2 separate regions of the Homo sapiens genome follow, and region 2 is linked to region 1. The links are contacts of gene promoters, found by promoter capture Hi-C in human tissues and cell types (Jung and others, 2019). All regions are on one chromosome and are shown on one strand. Each heading gives the region's core, a stretch centred on a gene start or on the middle of the fragment in contact. The rest is flanking DNA. Distances are from core to core; before and after follow the strand shown.

What was found. Contacts are between HindIII fragments. The study calls those that stand out against the background at their distance.
Region 2: a contact is called between a fragment that was not itself captured here and the fragment with the promoter of TBL1XR1 in region 1, in 1 of the 25 tissues and cell types used here (dorsolateral prefrontal cortex).

What each region holds. Positions count from the first base shown.
Region 1 is chr3:177,192,707-177,200,185 of GRCh38, reverse strand. It overlaps TBL1XR1 (TBL1X/Y related 1), which reads left to right and starts at 2,704. Exons shown (of 16, transcript NM_024665.7): 1 at 2,704-3,065. RefSeq lists silencers at 2,113-2,492, 2,733-2,922, 3,033-3,132, 3,613-3,662 and enhancers at 2,110-2,617, 2,618-3,127, 5,896-6,486. The HindIII fragment of the contact is 7,362 bases long and covers 1-4,613 here.
Region 2 is chr3:178,313,841-178,321,329 of GRCh38, reverse strand. All of the region lies in intron 2 of LOC105374235 (a long non-coding RNA gene), which reads left to right. Among named protein-coding and RNA genes, the nearest start is that of LINC01014, 100 kb to the left of the region's middle. RefSeq lists a silencer at 1,163-1,363. The HindIII fragment of the contact is 4,460 bases long and covers 1-4,186 here.

The sequences.
Region 1 (7,479 bases), core at 1,455-3,954:
AGCCTGACCAACATGGAGAAACCCCATCTCTACTAAAAATACAAAATTAGCCAGGCGTGGTGGTGCATGCCTGTAATCCCAACTACTCGGGAGGCTGAGACAGGAGAATCGCTTGAACCTGGGAGGCAGAGGTTGCAGTGAGCCGACATTCCGCCATTGCACTCTAGCCTGGGCGACAAGAGCGAAACTCCACCTAAAAAAAAAAAATGTACTCCTGCTCTCTCCTCTCTCTTCAATTAGTATGATCCAACAGTGGTGAGTAAAGTACATTTTACTGCAACGGATTTGTAAGTCCCCAGCCTCGATGATCTTCATATTTAAATGCAGTCATTTACGCACAGAAATGTCTTGTAAACTACAGGGATATAAACAAATGCATGGATTATTATCATTGTGAGGAGGCTCAACTAACACTGAACAACTTTAGGAGGCAGCTTGGTGTAGGGTATAAGAACTTCAGGCTGGAAGACCTGATCCTATGAACCTGAAGGAGGGTGTCTCCTCCCTTGTGGAATAAGGGATAGAAGTCATTTAGGGGAAGGAGAAGGGGTGGGGTGGGCAGCTTTGAATATGACGCTTTAAGAATGGTATGGTTGAGAAGTCCTCACTCACTGAAAGTGGGGTTTGATTTTACAGTCACTGCTGTATGGAGAGGACCCGCCCGTGGTGGCACAATATGAAACTTAAAAAATAATCTAAGCCAATAGATATGTTTCATTGAGTGGCTCCACCGAGATAGTTTACTTACTGAAGACAGGGTATGTTTAGTGATATCTACGTCATTTATCAACTCAAAAAAAAAAAAAGGAAGATACTATATACTCTTTTCAATTCTGAAATAAAGTCTTCTGAAAGGTGTTAGTTCTGAGGTAAACAAGCCTCAGCTTTAGAATCCTATTGAAATGCAAAACTTGCTTTGTGCGGTTTCCCTGTACACTCTGCATAGTGTTTTGGAAACCTGCAGTTATCTAAATTCCCATCGGGTGACATTGTTTAATCCAACATTCCCACTTTCATACATGAAAATAGCTCTAAGGACACACCACTAATATGCTTTGAACTCTCTGGTGGTTGGAAGGGAGTTTCCAATCCCACTCCCTTTCCTCTGATGGTTTTCCTGCTCCCTGCCCCACTAGGTCATTCAGGAAAGGCCTCTGGCAGCTCCCCCAAGCAAGGGCTCAGGGGGGAAAGAGACATTGACCTTGGCCAAGAAAGCACCTGTCTAATTACTGAACTTATTAGGCCACCAGGAGTCCAGACTGGTGCAAGTTACGAGTAGTGTGTGTGTGTGTGTGTGTGTGTGTGTGTGTGTGTGTGTGTCGCAAAACTTCAGGTTTCTGATATTGAGAGGAAATGATGGTTGCTTTAAAGTGATCACTACATCTATTTTCAAATATTCTGATGAAAGTAGGAAAACAGAACCCTTCACCTTTAAGAAAGCTGCAAACATTATTTTGCTTTGAAGGCAGTAATAAGCGAAATAACAAAAAGGTTTCAAGTCGTATCTTAATGTAAAAGGGTGGCTGCTTCTCCAGTCCTGAGCTTATACAAAGCTCTAAAAAGCACCCTACCCCATCTTTCTGAAAGTCTTAGAAAGATTACCACCCCATTTGCTTTAAAACCTGTGAGGTGCCTCCCTTCTTTAAAAACAACCCTCCCTCAACCATACTGCCACATTATCACTCATCTAAGTTATACTTTATAAACCGCCTTGCTGTGCTTCACACATGCAAAAAGTACACAAAGTGGATAAACTTCTACTGTGGATGCCACTGTGCAGGTATATATTTAGTAAACATTTAGTTACATTATTTTATTTTTGTGAAATAAGAACTGATCGAGCAAACCTTTCAAACAGACCCACCAGATGATAAATACCACCATATGCTTGATTCACAGTACATTTGGGCATAAATACTTCAATTACAGCTTTGTGTTTAGTATCAAAAACCTTTTCTTGTGTGCGTGTTTTCTCTCCAGATCCCGTGCTCTGGATCACATTTTGAAAGTCGCTTATTACAGATAAAGCACCTTTCCAGGTACGCTTCGGAGAACCATATGTATTTACGCACACAAAGGTGTTCACAGAGATTTTCACAAACAAATGTCCATATGATGCCGCGCCGCACTCCCCCACATGCCCGCCGCGTGTGCGCCCAGCCCCCAACGCCGCCGGGCCGCCCCCCGGACACGCGGGAGCCCGCGGCGTCCTTGGGGAAACTTCGCCGGCGGCTCCACCCCGGCCACCGCGCGGGCCTCCCCGCCCCCACCCGTCTCGGGCCCAGCGGCCCACACCCGAGCACACCCAGGCCGGCCCGCGGCGGTGGGGGCGGGGCGGGCGGCCCGGGGCCCCGAGGCGCCTTCGAGTGCCCGCGGGGCTCGCCTGATTTTTAAAAGAATGCGCCGCACAGCCCAGCCCCCAGTGCCGCCAGAGCGGGCCGGGAAGGAGAGGAGCGCGGCCGCTGGAGCCCCCCCGCCGCGCCGCCGCCGCCTCCCGGCGTCCGCGGCGCCCCTCCCCCGCCGGCCCCTCCCCCGCGCGCCCGCCCGCCCGCTCGCCCGCCCGCCCGGCGCAGGCCGCTCGGGTTTGTTTTGCTGCGCGGCCGCCGCCGCCGCCGCCGCCGCGGGCCTCGCGAGCTCATTTGTGCCTGGCTGGTCCCCATTCCTCTCTCCCCAGTGTTGAGTGTCTGAGCCGTTGGCTGCTCCGAACCGTTTGGCTCTTTCCCTTAGTAACAGCTTTTACCTTCTGCCTCAATTCCTCTCCCCGCTCGCGCCCTTCCCCCGCGCGCCGCCTCCCCCCGCCGCCGGCCGCGTGCGCCCCCGCCCCTCCCCCCGCGGCGGGAGCACCTCCGCTCGCCACCTGGGGACCCGCGCCGCGCTCCCCGCCCCCGCCCGCCCGGCGCCCATCCCCCGCGCCCTCCGCTCGCTGGGGTTATAATTGCCTCTCACCCCCCGGAGGGGTTATTTTGGGGGTGGTTGGAGGCGGTGGCGGCGGCGGCGAGGAGGGGAATTTCCTTGTGCCTCCATTCCCGGGAGGGGGGAGCGGCGTTGGAGGCCACCGTTTCCAGGTAAGCGCTGGGGGCCGGACCCTGGAGTGGGGGCGGCCGGGGGCCTGGGCGGGGGGCGCGGGCCAGAGGCGGCCGGGGGCGCTGGGCCGCGGGGGGATGGGCGCGAGTGGAACATGCATTTTTCAACTTGGCCCTTGGGGGAACTGGGCTTGCGTGGGGGAAGGGAAGGCAGGGAGGGCACTTGGGGCGCCCCCATCCCCCCGTTTTCCTCTCTCAGGTTTCTTTGAAATGCTCACGTGCCTGCCCACCCCCCTACCCTTTCCCGGTCTCGGGGGATCCTCACCCTAATTATGTTGTCCCCGAAAATGTGCACCTCGGCCTTCTCCCCCTCTTCCTCCCTTCGTGCATTTACACCCCCTTTTTGTGCGTGTGTGTTTGGGGGGGGAGGCTTTCAGGAAAGGATTTGCAGCAAATTGAATCAAGGAGCCATCATGAGGCCGACTCCTTTATAGCCTATTTTTAGCAGAGGAGAAGGAGCTTTTCGGTGCATGCTATTTTGTGAAACCTCGGGCGGCAATGGAAATCTCCCCTCCCCGGGCGCGTCCCCGGCCCGGGCGCGGCGACCCCGGCCGGCGTGCTGGGGGCTGCGGGCGGCTGTTGGGGCCGCGCGTCCGGGGCGGGGGCGCCGGCCGGGGGAGGGGCGCGCGGCAGCCGGGCCTTGCTCCGGGACGTGTTTATTTGTAACTTAGTGCTTTTTATCGTCTTAAGGAGGTATTTGGTGGAGGCTCTTTGAAGTTGGGTTCAGGAGTGTAGAATTGGCAAAGTTATTGCCAGCTTCCTGGTAAGTTTTGGGTGGCACAGAGTCACGTTATTTTCTGACAGTGTAAAGGCCACGTTGTGAGGGTGGTTTCTCGGTAACTTCCTCTTTGCAACCGATTTAATTTTTTGAACAGAAGCAGACTTTTATTTAAGTGGAATATTAATCTTAAATGGCAGCTCGAGGGAAGCCATGCATGTGTTAACGTGTTCAGTATTTTTGGAAGTTCTTAATTTGCTGAAACAGGCATCACTTCGCAGTGGCAACCGGGATTAAATTTAGGTTGTGAAAATGGTGTATTTCATGTAAAATTTGGGTTGTGGCTTTTAAAAAATGCTCTCTTTGTTAGGTTATCTAAGTGTCTCTAAGATAATTTGGTGATTACAAATGAGAAATGTTGGAAACTAGTTAAAAATTAGGTGTTCTCAGTGTCTGGAGTTTACTTGAAATCTTGGACTGTGCAGGCACCAGGGGTGAAGAGTTTTAGTACCTATGTGATTTACAGTTGACTTAGGAAAGTTTACTATTCACTTTCTTGTTTTCCAAACAGGAACCGTATGCTGATCTAAACAAGCTTGTTAATAAAATGTGGGGGGTGAAAATGCCAGGTTATTTTTAGTTTGAATTTTAAGACTGAATGGTTGCTCTACCCCCCACCTCATATAATTAAGTGATCTTCCCCCTCCGTTTTTCCTAAAGGCTTCTTCACCAGTTTGGATAATAAGGCCCTCGTGGTGTGTTCATCTACTTACCTGAAATAACTTGGAATAAATAATTTCGATTACACGTTGAAGATACAATGAGTGACTGTTTGGGTTTTCCAGTGTGATTCATTTTCATTTTTGTTAAAATAAGACCCATGCTACATTGATGTATTTTAGTAATGCCGACTTCCTGGGATTGTATGTTCTCACCATTTTAATAGTTTATAGTCTGGGGAAGTAGGGCACCTTTGTCTCCCCGAAAACATGGTGTGGGTTGGGTGGTATCATGGGAGTTGATGGCAAGCTTCCCAAATAGTTGAGAGTTCTAGAAATAGTTAGCATTTACCTGTGGGGGAGGGGCTGCAGGAAGAAAGTATGCCTGAGAGCAGTTAGGCGTGTGATGTGTGATTAGGCTTCTTGCTCTTAAATCCAGGTTTTCTTGTTTGGAATATGATTTTTTTTTTCAACCCTATCCTGCACTGAGATGTATGTAATCGCAATCATTAAATTCATAAATAACTACTATTTTTTTTGACGTTTGAGTTGTTGGAATCCGACCTACAGGACAAAATACTAAACTGTATGGGGGACGAAAACTACGTGCCTGGGAAAAGTTTTTCTTATTGCTAAGGAACTTAATAAAGTGACATGTTAATGGCATAAAAATTGTTGCAAAGCTCACCGTCAGTTTATGACATTTTTCTTTTAACGTATACCAGCTTTGGGTATTAATGTGGGAGACACTGGTGGTAAATGGAGTGACCCCTTGCAGAGATGATATTTTTGCATTGGTTGCTTCAAAGAAGTGTTAAGCATTTTAATACGTATGTCTAAGAATCTTTTTGATATTTGTATTCTCGACACCTAATTAAAGGTTTTGCATGATTACCATGACACCAGTCTCCCGAAAGAATTAGAGGTAACTGCTTCCTGTGTTCTAGGAGCCTTTCAAGCTAACAGAAGGTAATATAAATATAAGGGGTACTGATAAAAGGAAATGTATTAATAGACCTTTTGAACATCAACTTGTTGATTAAATCTATCAGTGCAGTATATATACAACCTTGTCAGACGAGTAGCTGACAAAGGAATCTCCCTAGTACAACTTGTAGCAGTACTATTATAAAGAATTCCTGACTTGACACATTTTGATGAAGTTGGTTGAAATAATTTGTTGGGTTTGTTCAATTTTTGGTGTCATTTATATAAAAAGAATAAAGAAGAATGTGAATGGTAGGAAGTCAGGGGAGAGGCATGGCAGAAACATTGGTATTCACTAGAACTTGTATTTTTCTAGTGCATGTGAATTGGACTCATTTCACAAATAACATTTACAGTATAAGTCACTGAAATGCAAAAAAGGAAAGCAGCTAACACGAGACATTTATACTTTATGCTCAGACATTCTGGTAGTAGAGGAGGGCTAGGACCCTAGAGCTGTGTAGTAAAGAATTGTTGAGTATCGTTCAGTTTAGGTACCACGAAGGTGGTATCTCCTGCTCTGCCACCAATAGAAACTTGAAGTTAAAAAGAAAAGACTCTGAGAGCGCTGATGCTGGAGAGATTTGGCTGTTTACCCCTCTGGGATTGGATTCGGTAAGAGTGCAATTAATTGCCCTGTAACCATAGAGCCAGAGGAGAGGGACTAGGTGCTCCGGGCTATGCTCTAGGAGGTGTGAGGTGCTTTCTATGCTGTTTATACCCTAGGCTAATCCTATGAGGTAGATAGTGTTGGGCTTTTTTTGTGGATGATGAAACAGAGATGCAAAGAAGTTAATTCCCTTGTTCAAGGCCACAAAATTATTAAATGAACACTAGGATTCAAACCTGGGTCTGTCTTAGATGACTGAATCTGCGGAATTTTCCCAGCTGTTTTGTTAGTCTTGATCCGTGTAGATCATCCTTCCAAAAACTTGTGTTTCTAATCAAGTTTATGATCTATAGTTGAGCGTCTGTACTAAATGGGTCGAGTGATTACATGGGTAAATGAAATTGATAGAACTCATATCATTGTGCTGAATTCCCTAGCACCATTTAATAAGATGCAGTCTTGCTGGGTGCAGTGGCTCACGCCTGTAATCCAAGCACTTTGGAAGGCCAAGGCGGGCGGATCACGAGGTCAAGAGATTGAGACCATCTTGGCCAGCATGGTGAATCCCCGTCTCTACTAAAAATACACAAATTAGCTGGGCGTGGTGGCGGGTACCTGTAGTCCCAGCTACTCGGGAGGCTGAGGTGGGAGAATCGCTTGAACCCAGGAGGTGGAGGTTGCAGTGAGCCAAGATCGCGCCATTGCACTCCAGCCTGGGCGATAGAGGGAGACACCCTCTCAAAAACAAACAAACAAAAAATTTGTGTAAGAAAAATCATTGAAGTCTTTGTGTTGTAGCATAGTGGTTAAAGTGAGTTCAAACTCAGGCTCTATCCTTTACTAGCTGTGATGTTGGGGTAGTAGCTCCTCATACGTTTTATTTATTTTTTAAAATTTTATTTTATTTTATTTTTTTGAGACGGAGTTTCGCTCTGTTGCCCAGGCTGGAGTGCAGTGGCGCGATCTCGGCTCACTGCAACCTCCGCCTCCTGGGTTCAAGTGATTCTCCTGCCTCAGCCTCCCAAGTAGCTGGGATTACAGGTGCTTGCCACCACTCCCGGCTAATTTTTGTGTTTTTAGTAGAGATGGGGTTTCAGCATGTTGGCCAGGCTGGTCTCGAACTCCTGACCTCAGGTAACGTGCCTGCCTCGGCCTCCCAAAGGGCTGGGATTATAGGCATGAGCCACATTGCGCCTGGCCCTAATGTGTTTGTTTCTTCATCAGTGTAAGGGGACAGTCAACTTTCATAGAGTTAAGAAGATCCAGTTAGTGTGTGAGAGGTACTTAGAACAATGGTTGACATTCTAAGCATCCTGTAAGTGTAAGTTGCTCCTGATAGGTTTGATTTTTGAAGTTTGTTTC
Region 2 (7,489 bases), core at 707-3,206, 1.1 Mb before region 1:
AAGAAAAAAGAATGGGAGAGGGAGTTGTGTCGTGAAAGACACACACAGGTTCTTTTAGAGCTGGAAGAGAAATTGAAGTTAAATCTGCCAATCTCTAAAGTTTACAGATGGGAAAAGTGAGATCCAGCACAACACAGGCTTGCTGGAGTCATGTGGACCATGGGTAGCAAAGCCAGAAGTGCTTTCTGGCCAGTTCCCAGCCAACTGTGATAGCTGGTTGCTTCTCCTAGCAAGATTAGCAATGAATCCTAGGCAAATAAATGTTTAAAAAGTACCATTGATTCTATACCTGCCAACCAATTTCCAGGGCTGGCAATCTGGCCTCTAGGGGAAGGGACAGTCCTGTGGGGGAATATTACAACTGGGAAGCTTCCTGACATGGAGGCACCATTAACATTCAGATTGTTTTCACAGAGGGTAGGCTGTGTTTGGTCTGCCAAGGGGAGAAGGAGGAAGCAACAAAATTCTGATTTCTCCTATTTCCTACTATTCTTTGTGTCATGTTTACAGTGCAGGGGGTGGATAGGACAGACTGGCATCTCTCCTGATGCCACCTCCCTCCATGGAGCCCCCCGCCAAGGCTCACTAGCAGTCCTGTGAGATGAAGATTTTATGCTGGTATCCTGGCCGGCTTCCATCTGGCCAAAGGTATTTTATCTAAATATTTCCAAGGCGCCTATCTCTGCAGTATTGAAGTGCTCAATTAGATATGGCCTAAGTCTCTGAAGCATATCAGTGTGCACTGCTGAACAGCTGCTGCATTCCAACAGAGGGTGAAGTCATCTCTATATATAGAGCATGGCAAGCTGTTTGGAACTGAGGCAGATTTAAGCAGGCAAATGCACACCTGAGTTATAAGTCAGTCACCTGCCCAGAGTGACAGAAGGGTCTGGAAAAATCTCTACTTCCTTAAGTGGTGACTAGCAAGAAGACCACAGGGTTACTTTTTCAGCTATATTTTTTTTTCTGTAGTTTACAGACTCTCTTTTTTTTTTCTATCAACTCCACAATAGAGAAAATCATGATCTACAAAACTGGCTTTATTTTCTGCCATGATTTTCTCTTAACAATCTGTGATTTGTTTATTGATAAGAAGTTTGACATATATTAGCTGGTATCCAGGGGAGTATTGTCATCCTTTAAATAGCACTGTAGGAATTAAGGCATTGTGTACTTCTTCATTTAATATCTATCTTCCCTATTGGATTGTAAGCTGCTAGCTCTTGGCACAACAGAGTGAAATAAATATATAAGTTATGACCATTTATAATCTTCTTGGAGTGTGATTCTCTGGTTCCAACTAAAAGACTATAATTATTGCTCCTTCCAAAGTAATCTGGAAATCTACTAAATCCTTGGGCTAGTTCTGAGAGATATATTGCTATTAATATGGTGACTGATACGTGTCATTGGAAGGGTCCTGGAAGGTCATCTAGATCTCTACCTCATTTGAATAAACATAAGTTGCTTTGGTTTGGGGACAGGGAGACAGGGACAGGACAAATAGCTAATTGTGCAAAAATGCTTGGAAATGACTCAACCACTTAATACCTGTGTTAATCTGGGAAAATCGCAGAAGCACAATGGGCTTAAGTTCTGTCATCTAAAAATAAAATAAAATAAATAAATGGAAAAGAAAAACCTCATCCGAATTCCAATTCCCACCCAGGGCTACAGGGAGGATCTCCTTCAGAAATGTGTCTGAAAATGCTATGCAAATTATATCGCACTCAGACATGAGAAGCATATTCTTATTTTTATTACTGTGTCTTATCTGTCAGAAAAGGTCAGATGGTCACATGAGCATTCCAATTCTGGTCAGCTAGAGGCAACAGCTCCATTTCAGCCATTTCTTCTTGAGCAACTGTAATGGAGCAGCTGTAATGGTGTATCAAGCAAACAGGCAGGTGAGAGAGAGATTCCTGGGAAAGTTCAGTTTCTGGCTTCTGGTATTGCAAATCACCTGAGCAGAGAATCACTGAGACTTCCTCTCATCCCTCTTCACTCTGTCCCTTAGCAGGTAGCGACTGTATCTCATTTCATGATGTCAGAAGCCACCAAAGGTCAAAAAGCACCTAAATGAGGAACACCAGACTAGAACATTCCATTTATGACCAATGCCTTGCTTATCCCACAGCTCTGTTATCAGTTATTGAAGCTACAGCATCTCTGTGGGGATGGGGAGATAAATTACTTCCTGGGGTTATACTCTGTCTTGGCTGTCAGGACTCAGATTCCTATATGATGAATTTATAAACTGAACTTTGACTTCTGTGAAGCAGGCAAGATGCAAATCCTTGCTAGTGCTGATCTGTGGGACATGCCTAGTTTTTCATTGATTGGTTATTAAATCGAGCCAGGATGATGTAAGCACATGCTACAAGAAATGTGAATCAAGGAGCCCAAAGCAAAGAAGACCTCTTGGGATGAACAACTTCCTTAAATCGGTTATAAAATTCTGCCATGGGTCATGAAACTCTATTCTGTGTAGAGAATAACCCAAATAGGTGAATGCATTGCTAGGGCTAATACTTCTTTTTTAAGTTCCCTGAAGGCATAGATGACAGCATGTAAGTCTTCGTTGTCCCTTAATTTTTCTCGTTCCCACCTCTGTCAGTATTCAGCTTGTGTAGGTTTTTCCAAGTCACCTAAATTGCCAGTCTGACAGCTAGCTACTCACAGGCAAGAGGGGGAGGAATTGAGCTGATTACCTATTAACTTCAGCCTGAATTAAATATTTCCATATTGCTTTAAAATTCAGAGTTCTTTCTTATGCATCCCCCCTGGGTTTCCGTGCTCTATATATAAAAAGGCAATGTGACAAATTCCTTTGCCAAGGCTTGGATGTTGGGAACTCAGAGTTTTTATTTAATCATGGTGCTGAGTTCCTGTCTGGCCTTGTATATGCTATTTTACATTTCAAATATTCCATCTGTAAAGACTGAATGATAATTCTTACCGATCTCGCAGGGAGTTTGGAGATGATGGATTATTTAGTGTTGTAAAGAGCTTTTGGACACACTGAGTGCTAAATAACTTGTATTATTAGACCCTCTCTACATTGAAGCTGAAACATTGGCCACCTGACCTGTTTTGGCATCAGATCTCCTGAGGTTCTCTTTCCACAGCACTCACAGAGTGATGATTCTCTGTATGTGTAGTAATAAAAGGAGTCTGGGCCATTAACTTGGGTTGTTGAAATACTGCAGTTCTTTATTTCTTGTCCTATTTTATTTTATGAGAACACAATTCTAAACCATCATATTTGTAGAGATTCCATTATATAATAAACATGCCTCAAAAGAACTATTTTATTATGAAATGTGCTAGGTTTTTTCTATGACAACTGGTGGTTGGGGTAGAGGATTGCTGGTCAATGCTAAGTTTTGAAAGCAAACTAATTATCTTTGAGGTTTACTACTTCTGTGATGCCGACTGAATCTCTGACATTTGGGGAATTCTTCCTCTATTTGCATATATTTTGTATAGATTATTTTGTTTGTTGGCCAAACATATGTTGAATTTCTATAATGATTCACGTCCTAGGTTAGGACATAAATATAAAATCTATATCACTCATGTTGTCTCTATCACAAAGGACTTTATAATATTAGGATAAACATTTAGTGATAAGTGAAATACAAGATGAGATATAAGCAGGGTATTGTATGAATGTAAATAAGGTAATTATTGCCTTGAGGAGTCAGAAAAGATTTCTTAGACATTGGAGGCATTTAAATTGAGACTTTAAAGAGGCCATTTGCCAAGTAAAGAAAAAAGGATGAGAAATGGAACATTTTCTTTGCATAGCGTGTAGCACGTGTACTGAACGTTTTGGCTTTACTACACTATTTACTGACAGGAAATGAAAGTGGCGCATAGATTTACCTATTGAGACCCACTTAGACATTCTATAAGAGGCCCTTTTAGCTTTATTGATCACAAATTAATATCTCTTGCAGGAAGGGCTTCTCTTTTGGAAGTACTCTGCAACACAAGTCTACTCGGCTTTTCAAATGAGTGGAGAAAAAAGATAGTGGCTCTTGAGGGCCCATTCCCCTTAATAATCTAGAATTGCTCTGGATCAATCATGCTTGCCCCCTGTACTTCCAAATGCTGGCTGGAATCATGAGAAACCTCTTCATGTTGAATTGCTGCTCCTCAGCAGGGCCACATTTCCTTCAACAGAAAGGAGAAAATGTGAGCTTGCTGAGGAGCTGCCATTCACTATGAGGGTATTCAATTTTGTGTATTACTGCAAGTTGTATGGAGCCATAGAGGGCTTGGAGAGTATCTATGATCAGCTTTTTGGGATGAAAGACATGAGACAGCTATCAAGATACCATTACATTATGTAATTCTCTTTGGGATTCATTAGTCTCCAAGGCCTAGATATTGGAGAGGCTGTTTGGGTAGCCTTCTGGTACTTGCAGAGGGTTGTAACATTATAAATATAAATTAGAGCTTCATTTCATTCAGCTTATTTTGATTCTACATACTATGTCAGTTACTATGCTAGGGATTTTCACATATTATCTCATTTCTGTGTATTTATAATAGCTCAGTATGGTTAGGTATTATACTGATCTTATAATCTTATAAATTTTTAAAGACCACATATTATATATCTTTTTCTCCTTATTGTTGGTATTGAGGATGGAGACTTTTCAAAGTGGTGTTATCCGTCTACTTGGAAATTGGAGTTGGTGTTCTGCTCTGTAAAATCCTCGAATCCTTTCCTTTTCTGGCATTCTAGATGACTTTAACATGTACCATAGAATCAATTTTCTTTTGTTGCTGTTTTTGGATACTTCTTCACTTTATGACTGTAAGCTAAATATATATCAGTACGTTCACTTCATCTTCTATTCCCTGTAATATCTAATGAGGCACATAGGAAGTATGCTGTTTCAAAGTTATCAGTATGATTTTGACAGAACATTTTGGGAATTATGTATTAGGTTGTCAGATAGGCTCAAATGAGTGTGAGGCTGAGTTGTGCAAAACCAATTAAATGTACTAGTTTCTATCTTGCATAGCAAATTACCACCAACTTAAAGACTTAAAACAACATAGATATATTATCTCTCAGTTTCCATGGGCCAGGAATCACACATGGCTTAATTGGGTCTTCTGTTTGGGGTCTCACAAGGCTATAGGCAATGTGTCAGCCAGGCTTTGCTCCTTTCAGAAGTTTGGGGTCCTCTTCCTAGCTCATGTGGTTGTTGGCAGGATTCAGTTCCTTGTGGGTGTAGTACTGAAGTTCGCCTTTCCTAGCTGGTGGTCAGCTGGAAGCCACTCTCAACTTCTAAGTCTGCCCACAGTTTCCCACCACATGAGCCTCTCACAGGCTCTTCCACAACACCTCAGCTTACTTCTTCCAAGCCAGGAAGAGGATCCCTCCAGTCTACTAAGATGGAGTTGTATATATTGTAACACAACTATGGGAGTGACTGTCCTTTCACCTTTGTCGTATTTCATCAAGTAGATGAGAGTCACAGATTTTTCCTGCACTTTGGGGAGGGATTATATAACAGCATGCATATTGGGGGTTATTTAGGTTATATCTGCCACTTTTTTTTTTTTTTGAGATGGAGTCTCGCTCTGTCGCCCAGGCTGGAGGGCAGTGGTGCGATCTTGGCTCACTGCAAGCTCTGCCTCCTGGGTTCACGCCACTTTCCTGCCTCAGCCCCCCGAGTAGCTGGGACTCAGCCACCCGCCACCATGCCTGGCTAATTTTTTTTGTATTTTTAGTAGAGACGGGGTTTCACCGTGTTAGCCAGGATGGTCTTGATCTCCTGACCTCGTGATCCACCAGCCTCGGCCTCCCAAATTGCTGGGATTACAGGCATGAGCCACTGCACCCAGTCATGTCTGCCACTTTAAGAGTTAGATCTAGAAGAATGCTTATATCCACCTAATGAGCAAATGCCCCTAACTCCCATTCACCTGGGCTTGATATAACCTAATAAAACAAAGTAACAGTTGCACTAATGGTTATACACATATAGGTGTCAGAAGAGATAAGAAGAATAAGAAGAATAGTCATGTTTAAGTAGATTATTCAAAAGGAGTTTGTGGGGCCTGGACCTAAGATTCAGAGTCATCAAGTGAGGGTAGGAAAATTCCTTATTAATAAAGATATAGAAGCATCATTTTAATCTGAAAATAATATACATTGTAGCTTTTCATAGAAATGAAAAGCCCTGAAGGGTAAGCTATGAATGAAGGAGCTTGGATCTATTAGAAAAAAAATAAAAGAGAATGACAAATAGAGATTCAGAAGAACATTTTAGATTAGGAGAAAATATAGTCCTGGGTCACAGACAAAGATGGATTAAGTGGAAGAAAATCTTTGAAGTCAAGTCATCTGGAGAAACCTGTTCAGAGAGCAGACACTTACCCAGACAGGGCAAAGCCAAGTAGAGGGCGGTTTCACAAGCGGAACCCAAAATGCTACCAGTGACATTCGGATCAGTTGGCTTTAAGAGAAGCATCTCTAACCAACAAATAAAGAATAAATTTTGCTTTGCTAGAGACTACAATTGCTGAAAATAATAGCCCTTGAATAAGCAATAGTGGAAAATAAAAAGGGAAGTTAACATGATTGTAAAACCTAGACCTCTGGGTACATAGAACAGATAATTTGCATACAGCTTATTTTCCAAGTTTTCCTGAATTGTTATAAGATGACCTGTACACATTAAAGAACTAATTGGCCACATTTTTCATGAAGGACCACTGAGGAGTGAGCAACAGGATCCTGTCCAAAGATTTTTGAAGGGGTGGTCTCTTGTCACCTTTCTAGTGGGAAAGGGAGAAAGCCAGCTAGAGAACCCATTTGATGACTTCTCTTGGAAGGTTTTCCCATGACTTTCTAGAACCACAGAAAAGCAGCTAACTTTATGTGTCATGTCAGAAGGGACAATATCTTCCCATGATTTATTTATTTAGTTTGGCTTATGTGTCCTCTCCGTTTGTTACGATAGCACCTGTGCTTGCATGCATGATGGCTTTGATCACACTGGATTTTTGCCTTGTCTGACTCTTTCTCTCCCCTGAGAGCTTCCTGGGGGCAAAAAACACATTATTTTGTCTCTAGCTCTAGCATTTACCACATATTTGATTCACAACAAATGTTTTCTAAATAGTTTAATGGTGTTAGCACATCAGAATTCTATAAATCCAGATCTTTTAAGTTGTGTTGTTTCTATCAGAATACTCAATACAAAGAACCTACTGCTCTGACCAGAAAGAGCATTATAAACATGATTACAGACATAGAATCCCAGAACTCACATAAATTCACATCTATAGTTAGACATGAGGTTAACAAAAATTGCAAAAACATTGCCAGAAAATTCTAAACAATTCATGGAGAACTCATTAGTCTATTCAACAGACTACTGAGTTCAACAGACACCCTACTGAATGCCAGAGATTTCTGATGCATAAAACAAGACTTCTGTCCAGGATATGCTGTCAATCT